Linked DNA regions of Homo sapiens: region 1 is linked to region 2. The links are contacts of gene promoters, found by promoter capture Hi-C in blood cells and fetal thymus (Javierre and others, 2016). All regions are on one chromosome and are shown on one strand. Each heading gives the region's core, a stretch centred on a gene start or on the middle of the fragment in contact. The rest is flanking DNA. Distances are from core to core; before and after follow the strand shown.

Region 1 (2,700 bases), core at 82-2,581, 490 kb after region 2:
TGCTAACAAGGGTACATAATTTTCATCACTCCCAAATGACAAGCTCATGTGCCAGGACATGGGCTTTAATTCTACTTATACAAAAGCCTGAGTTCCAATACTTAATATCTTCCGATAATTACTTGGCCAGTAATCCACATCAAATCCCCACACTCCAATGATTCATTTTGAAAAGCTCCTAAACAAGCACCAACTCGGCAATCTTCCACCCTGATTCTCTTGGATGGCGAAAAGAAAATACTTCAGAGTTGCTCACCACTGGGCGGCACTTGGAGTGAGGTCATGTTTGGAAACAGGAGACGAACCAATAGCAAAGATTAATGGGGCTTTGGAAAAGCAAGTTTAAACAATATGTTCATGAATCGGGGGTAAATGTAAACCAATCAAAAAGGGAAAATATGTATCCATCTTTTACGCTTATATTTTTGGCCACCCTGTCGAACAGCTGCATCTTGCTGCCTTATTGGCTATCCCAGGCCAAGGATAGTTTACAAGCTGAAGTCACAGGCTCAGCTGGGGAACTGAGTTGCGGCGGGGGTGGGGGGGGGAATTAGGTCAAGGAGGATTCAGTGCTAAAGGAGGACTGTGATTTGCAATGGTTTTTTAAAATCCCATAACTGCTCTCTTACTAAACAGGTTTTTAGTGGTGTCATAACTGACATGGCCATTTTCCTAAGTTATTGCCTCATTGGAATTTCAGTAAATAGTGCTAGTCTTCCCCATGATCATGGCAAGAGAAAGGTAGGTAGAAAAAGACAAGCATCTCCAGAAGTGATAAGCAACCCAAATCTTATGATACAAGTGATTCATCCTAAGAGCCAGAGTCAAGATAAATGCTAAGAAAGCTGATCTGTGTTGCCACTTCTCACATACATCCGCAGACTAACATTCGAGGTTGAAAATCAACATAAATGTTCTTACTCACCTTCTTCTATTCAACAAGGCAGATATTTCAATTGCCTATAATTCCCCACTATGGAACTCATTACAACTAGTGCCATTTTGAATAAAGGAAAAGTTAATCTGTAAATTTTTTTATTTTTGATACAGGGAAAGTATGGTAATTTGTAATGTTTTATAGGGTTTCGTGCCTTGTATACTTAAAGAGGAAAAATCACAAAAAGCCCTATCTATTGTATGCTTAGTGTCTAGAAGAACTTTTGTCAAATCTCCAAGTCAGTATAAAAATAATTTTTTTTACCTTAACAACTGATAGTCTAAGACCAAGTCCAAAGCTGTGGGAAAGGACACAGAGGCAGATCATTTCTCCTAGTCCAAGCCATGTGTAAATAAAGGAGGCAATCACATTTGGGGAATCAATCAGGGTGCAACTTGATCTGCAATCTCATAACTGCCCCATAAGGCTGCATTATCAGTCACCAGAGAGTGGTCTATTCTCTGTTAAAGACAGATGCTAGAGAAGAAGCAAGACCCCATTGCAATCCACACTCCATGTCACAGACTGGAAAGATGGACACAAAGCAGGGATCAAAACCCAGCCAGATCATCTGAAGATATCCAAAGAGATTCCTACTGGACATCAACCTCTAGATCATAAGAGAGAAACCCCAGGTGTCCTGATGACCCAGGTAGAAAGGAAGGTGACCCTTTCACATTCTTGCGTAGAACAGAGTAACTTATTGTAGGGGTCTACGAGGCAAGCGTGTCATGAAATTCCACATCCCTCTGTCTAGCACTCTGCATTTCTAGGCACCTAGCTCCACCTAGGCCTAGGAGACACACTGAGAAACTTGTAAGGACACATTTGAGACTTCTAGGATTGGCTGCCATTGGGCAAACATCCCACGTAGATGTCTCTGGGACTGGAGGAAATGACTGGCTCAAGTCCAATCCAAGTTATGGCTCCAGCCAAAGATTCTGGGGTGAGAGATGGGCTGGAATGCCAGGGCAAACAGGAATACTTAGAAGGGAATGAGACAGAAAGCTGAATGTATCTGTCATGTCTGGCAGCATGACATGGAGTATGGCAGGCATGTGTAAGGAGCAGACTGAGGAAGGAGCAAGGGTGGAGCAGACACGAAGATGAGAGCAAGGCTGTCTCTAGGCTTTCTCTGATAAATCTGCAGCAGCAAGAGCCTATAAGTGTCAGGGCTAGTTCACGACCACAATCCAGATGGGCTCTGAAACAGGTTTGAGCTGGGGTGGTTAGTAAAGGGCAGTAAATTCAGCTGGAAATACAAAGAAAATGGAACAAATGTCCTCTTTTATTTTAAATCTAATGACATAAAGTTCAAAGACAAATTTATAAAATTGATCATTTATTTAGCACACTCCATACACCAGATATTCTGCTAAGCTCACAACTTCATTCGATTATCCAACCGTCTCACCAGACAGATATGAAGACATTTTACAGAGAAGATGCTTATAGGGAGAAGCTCAAAGAGGTTAAGTAATTCCCTCTTCTTCCCTCTCCCCAAAATACTACCATATCTCTGTCTTCAAAGTCTGCCCAATGCCATAACACTGGTTTTCCTCATCAAGATATGACCTCCAGTTTTAATCTTTCCAATATTAACCTTTCTATTATCTGGCCACGTAATGCTGGAAAGGTCATTAAACTTCTTGAGGCCCCGGTTTCTTCATTTTTGCCAGAAAAAGATAGAACTCCATGATCTCCAAGATCTCCTCTGAAACTTGGGGTATCCAGCTCAGGCTTTGTCTCCACAATGTGATATT
Region 2 (2,700 bases), core at 127-2,626:
AGAACTTTACATATATAAATGTATGTGTGTATATGTATGTGTGTATATGCCTATAGATATCTTTATATCCAGGAAGAGACATATATATATAGACACATGTAGATGTATATAACTGTATTGATTTATCTATCTGTATACCTACACACACACATATACACACACACACACACGTATATATGTTCATGTCTTTGGGTGTGGGATATCAGAAGCTCAGTTTGGACTATGTATGTGATATGAAAGTAGTATATACAGCAATTCTCCATTAGCTGGTAGTAGACTAGAAATATATTATCTATTGCCCAGTAGAATTTCCATTAGGATCCTTGCATTTTTCGTTTTCTTATAATCTAATTTTCTGCTTTTTATTTTTAAAAAGATAGTAGCTGCATCAAAGTAGTTTGTTTTGGTTTTTGTTTTTTGTGTCAAGGTTGACTATGGCGGATCATTCAGCAGATGTAAGTACGTGTTCACTTGAATTAAACAGCATTGTAAACAACTTCAAATTACTAAGTAAAGGTATTTATTTGAAACATAGAAATACTAAAAAAAATTAATGTCATGGGGAAAAATGCTGGTTTATTACAGAATATCAATATAACTGATGTAATGAATTTAAAACATTAAGCCAAATGACGTTGATTTATATTGCATTGCAGGTAAAATAGACAATCAAATGTACTCTGTCCATCCCAGTCTCAGTGTATCAATTAAAGCAACTCTTGGAGTCTACCAGTCACCATACAGTGGCTCTGTTCCAAACTATCAAAAAGGGAAGATTTTGTCAAGAGGAACTACTTGGCTACATTTTCCAAGCATCTATTGTTATCTATCTAAGCATTCGGTCTCTTCAGACGAAAAAACAGAAGGAAATTATTAAATGTTTGACAAGTTGATAATTTAGGATCACTGTATGTCACTGTATAAGAATTGCCTATTCTTACTCTATTCCCAATCTCTGAGGGAAGTGGCAATATGATTCTAGATTATTTAGAACAATAAAAATCTATACACGGAAGCTGCGTCTAAGAAACGAATATATAGTGCTTTGCACTCGACTGGCCCATTGTCAGCATCCCGCACTTGTTCTTTACCTAACTTGTGTGGCTTGCATATTGCAATCTGTATTACAATCCAGACGCGCTCTGCAGATTACAGATTGGATCCACAGAAAGCAGTTTGGATGGTTGAAATTCCCTCCACCAGAGGGCGACTCAGAGCTTTCCCCTGTAGCTCAGAGCTTTGTGGAAGGGGAACCCTGCTGCCTGTTCTTCCCCACAGCGACACTGACAAGTTGATCCAGCCGCGCTGGGCTCGAGCCTGTGCGGCAGGATGGAGCCAAGGGAGAGCGTGGTGCGGGGGCGTGGGGAAATCGGGTTGCCCCAGCCGTTACTGGTCCGCGCAGTCAGGGCATCCTCCGCATCCTCCACATCCTTCCATGGCTCTGAAGAATAAATTCAGTTGTTTATGGATCTTGGGTCTGTGTTTGGTAGCCACTACATCTTCCAAAATCCCATCCATCACTGACCCACACTTTATAGACAACTGCATAGAAGCCCACAACGAATGGCGTGGCAAAGTCAACCCTCCCGCGGCCGACATGAAATACATGGTGAGAAAGAACCAGGGCTGGGCTCTTAAATCCCTGACTCATCCTGAGGTATCTGGGTGATAAATTTCACGGACTTAACTTGTACTAATTCAATCCGGACTTTACATATATGCAGTTAAAAAGAAAAAAATTCACACCTTGGTTGGGCTGTCTCCTCCAGAGTCATAGGAGTGAACAAGAAAGGAAGACTTGAAGCTGTTCCTTGCCTCTTGCGGGGAAGGTGGGGATGCTGGAGCAGTGTTTGGAAGTTGCTTTGTTGCACCACTAAAGTTATAAGTACTGAACACAGGATTATTTTGTTTTCTTTCTTCCATTTTTTAGCTAGCAATTTCCACCCCCCACAACCAAGATACAAGATACCAAAGAAATAGCCCAGGAATGGAGATTCTCTTGTTCTCTTACTTATTTTTATATCATATGAATCCAAGATCAAAACAACACTTCATGTGTAGTATTATTTGAAAAAAATACAGTACTCTATTGAAGAATAAGCATAAAAAGCATTGGATTATTAAATAATCCATAGAATTTACAAAATTTTAAATACTTGACTATGAATTGTATGATTGGAAATTTCCCTTGCATTGTAACTTTTTCTTGTTTATAAATGCATCACTATGAGCATAAACGTTGATAGTATTAGTCTATTTTATGTGCTATGCAGATGTAGATACAGTATAACTCATATCTATTCCAGCTTTCTTCTTTTCTATCCAGTGGAAAACAAAAGTAATTATAAAATCACAACTCAGGCATTAAAATAAGTTCAAAACTGTACTAGTCTACTGTATAAGAAAATTATATTTTGATGGAGAAAGATTCAAATATGTATCAGAAATGAAACAAGAATAAACTAATCTCTTTAATGCAGAATTGTTAAGATATTTTAATATATAATGTTTACCAGCTTGGGGTTGTCCAAGGCATAAATTAACTAGAAATAAATCTTCAACGGAATTCAGAAATACTAATATTAGTATTAATATGGTTGATGCCTTTAGAGTTTTATTGTAAATGTATGATAAAAAAGAGTAAATGTGGGGTTAAATATAATAAATGTTCTTTATATTTCTTTTGTACTCATTGACTAT

What was found. Contacts are between HindIII fragments. The CHiCAGO score rates a contact against its expected background, and 5 or more counts as called.
Region 1: a contact is called between a fragment that was not itself captured here and the fragment with the promoter of GLIPR1L1 in region 2, in 1 of 17 cell types (neutrophils). The highest score is 6.5, in neutrophils.

What each region holds. Positions count from the first base shown.
Region 1 is chr12:75,820,690-75,823,389 of GRCh38, forward strand. The region is part of intron 1 of LOC105369844 (a long non-coding RNA gene); the gene reads right to left. Among named protein-coding and RNA genes, the nearest start is that of PHLDA1-AS1, 210 kb to the right of the region's middle. The HindIII fragment of the contact is 5,786 bases long and covers 1-2,700 here.
Region 2 is chr12:75,333,294-75,335,993 of GRCh38, forward strand. GLIPR1L1 (GLIPR1 like 1) reads left to right here and starts at 1,377. Exons shown (of 6, transcript NM_001304964.2): 1 at 1,377-1,609. The coding sequence starts at 1,436. It also overlaps a transcript of CAPS2 not described here. RefSeq lists a silencer at 1,114-1,223. The HindIII fragment of the contact is 15,549 bases long and covers 1-2,700 here.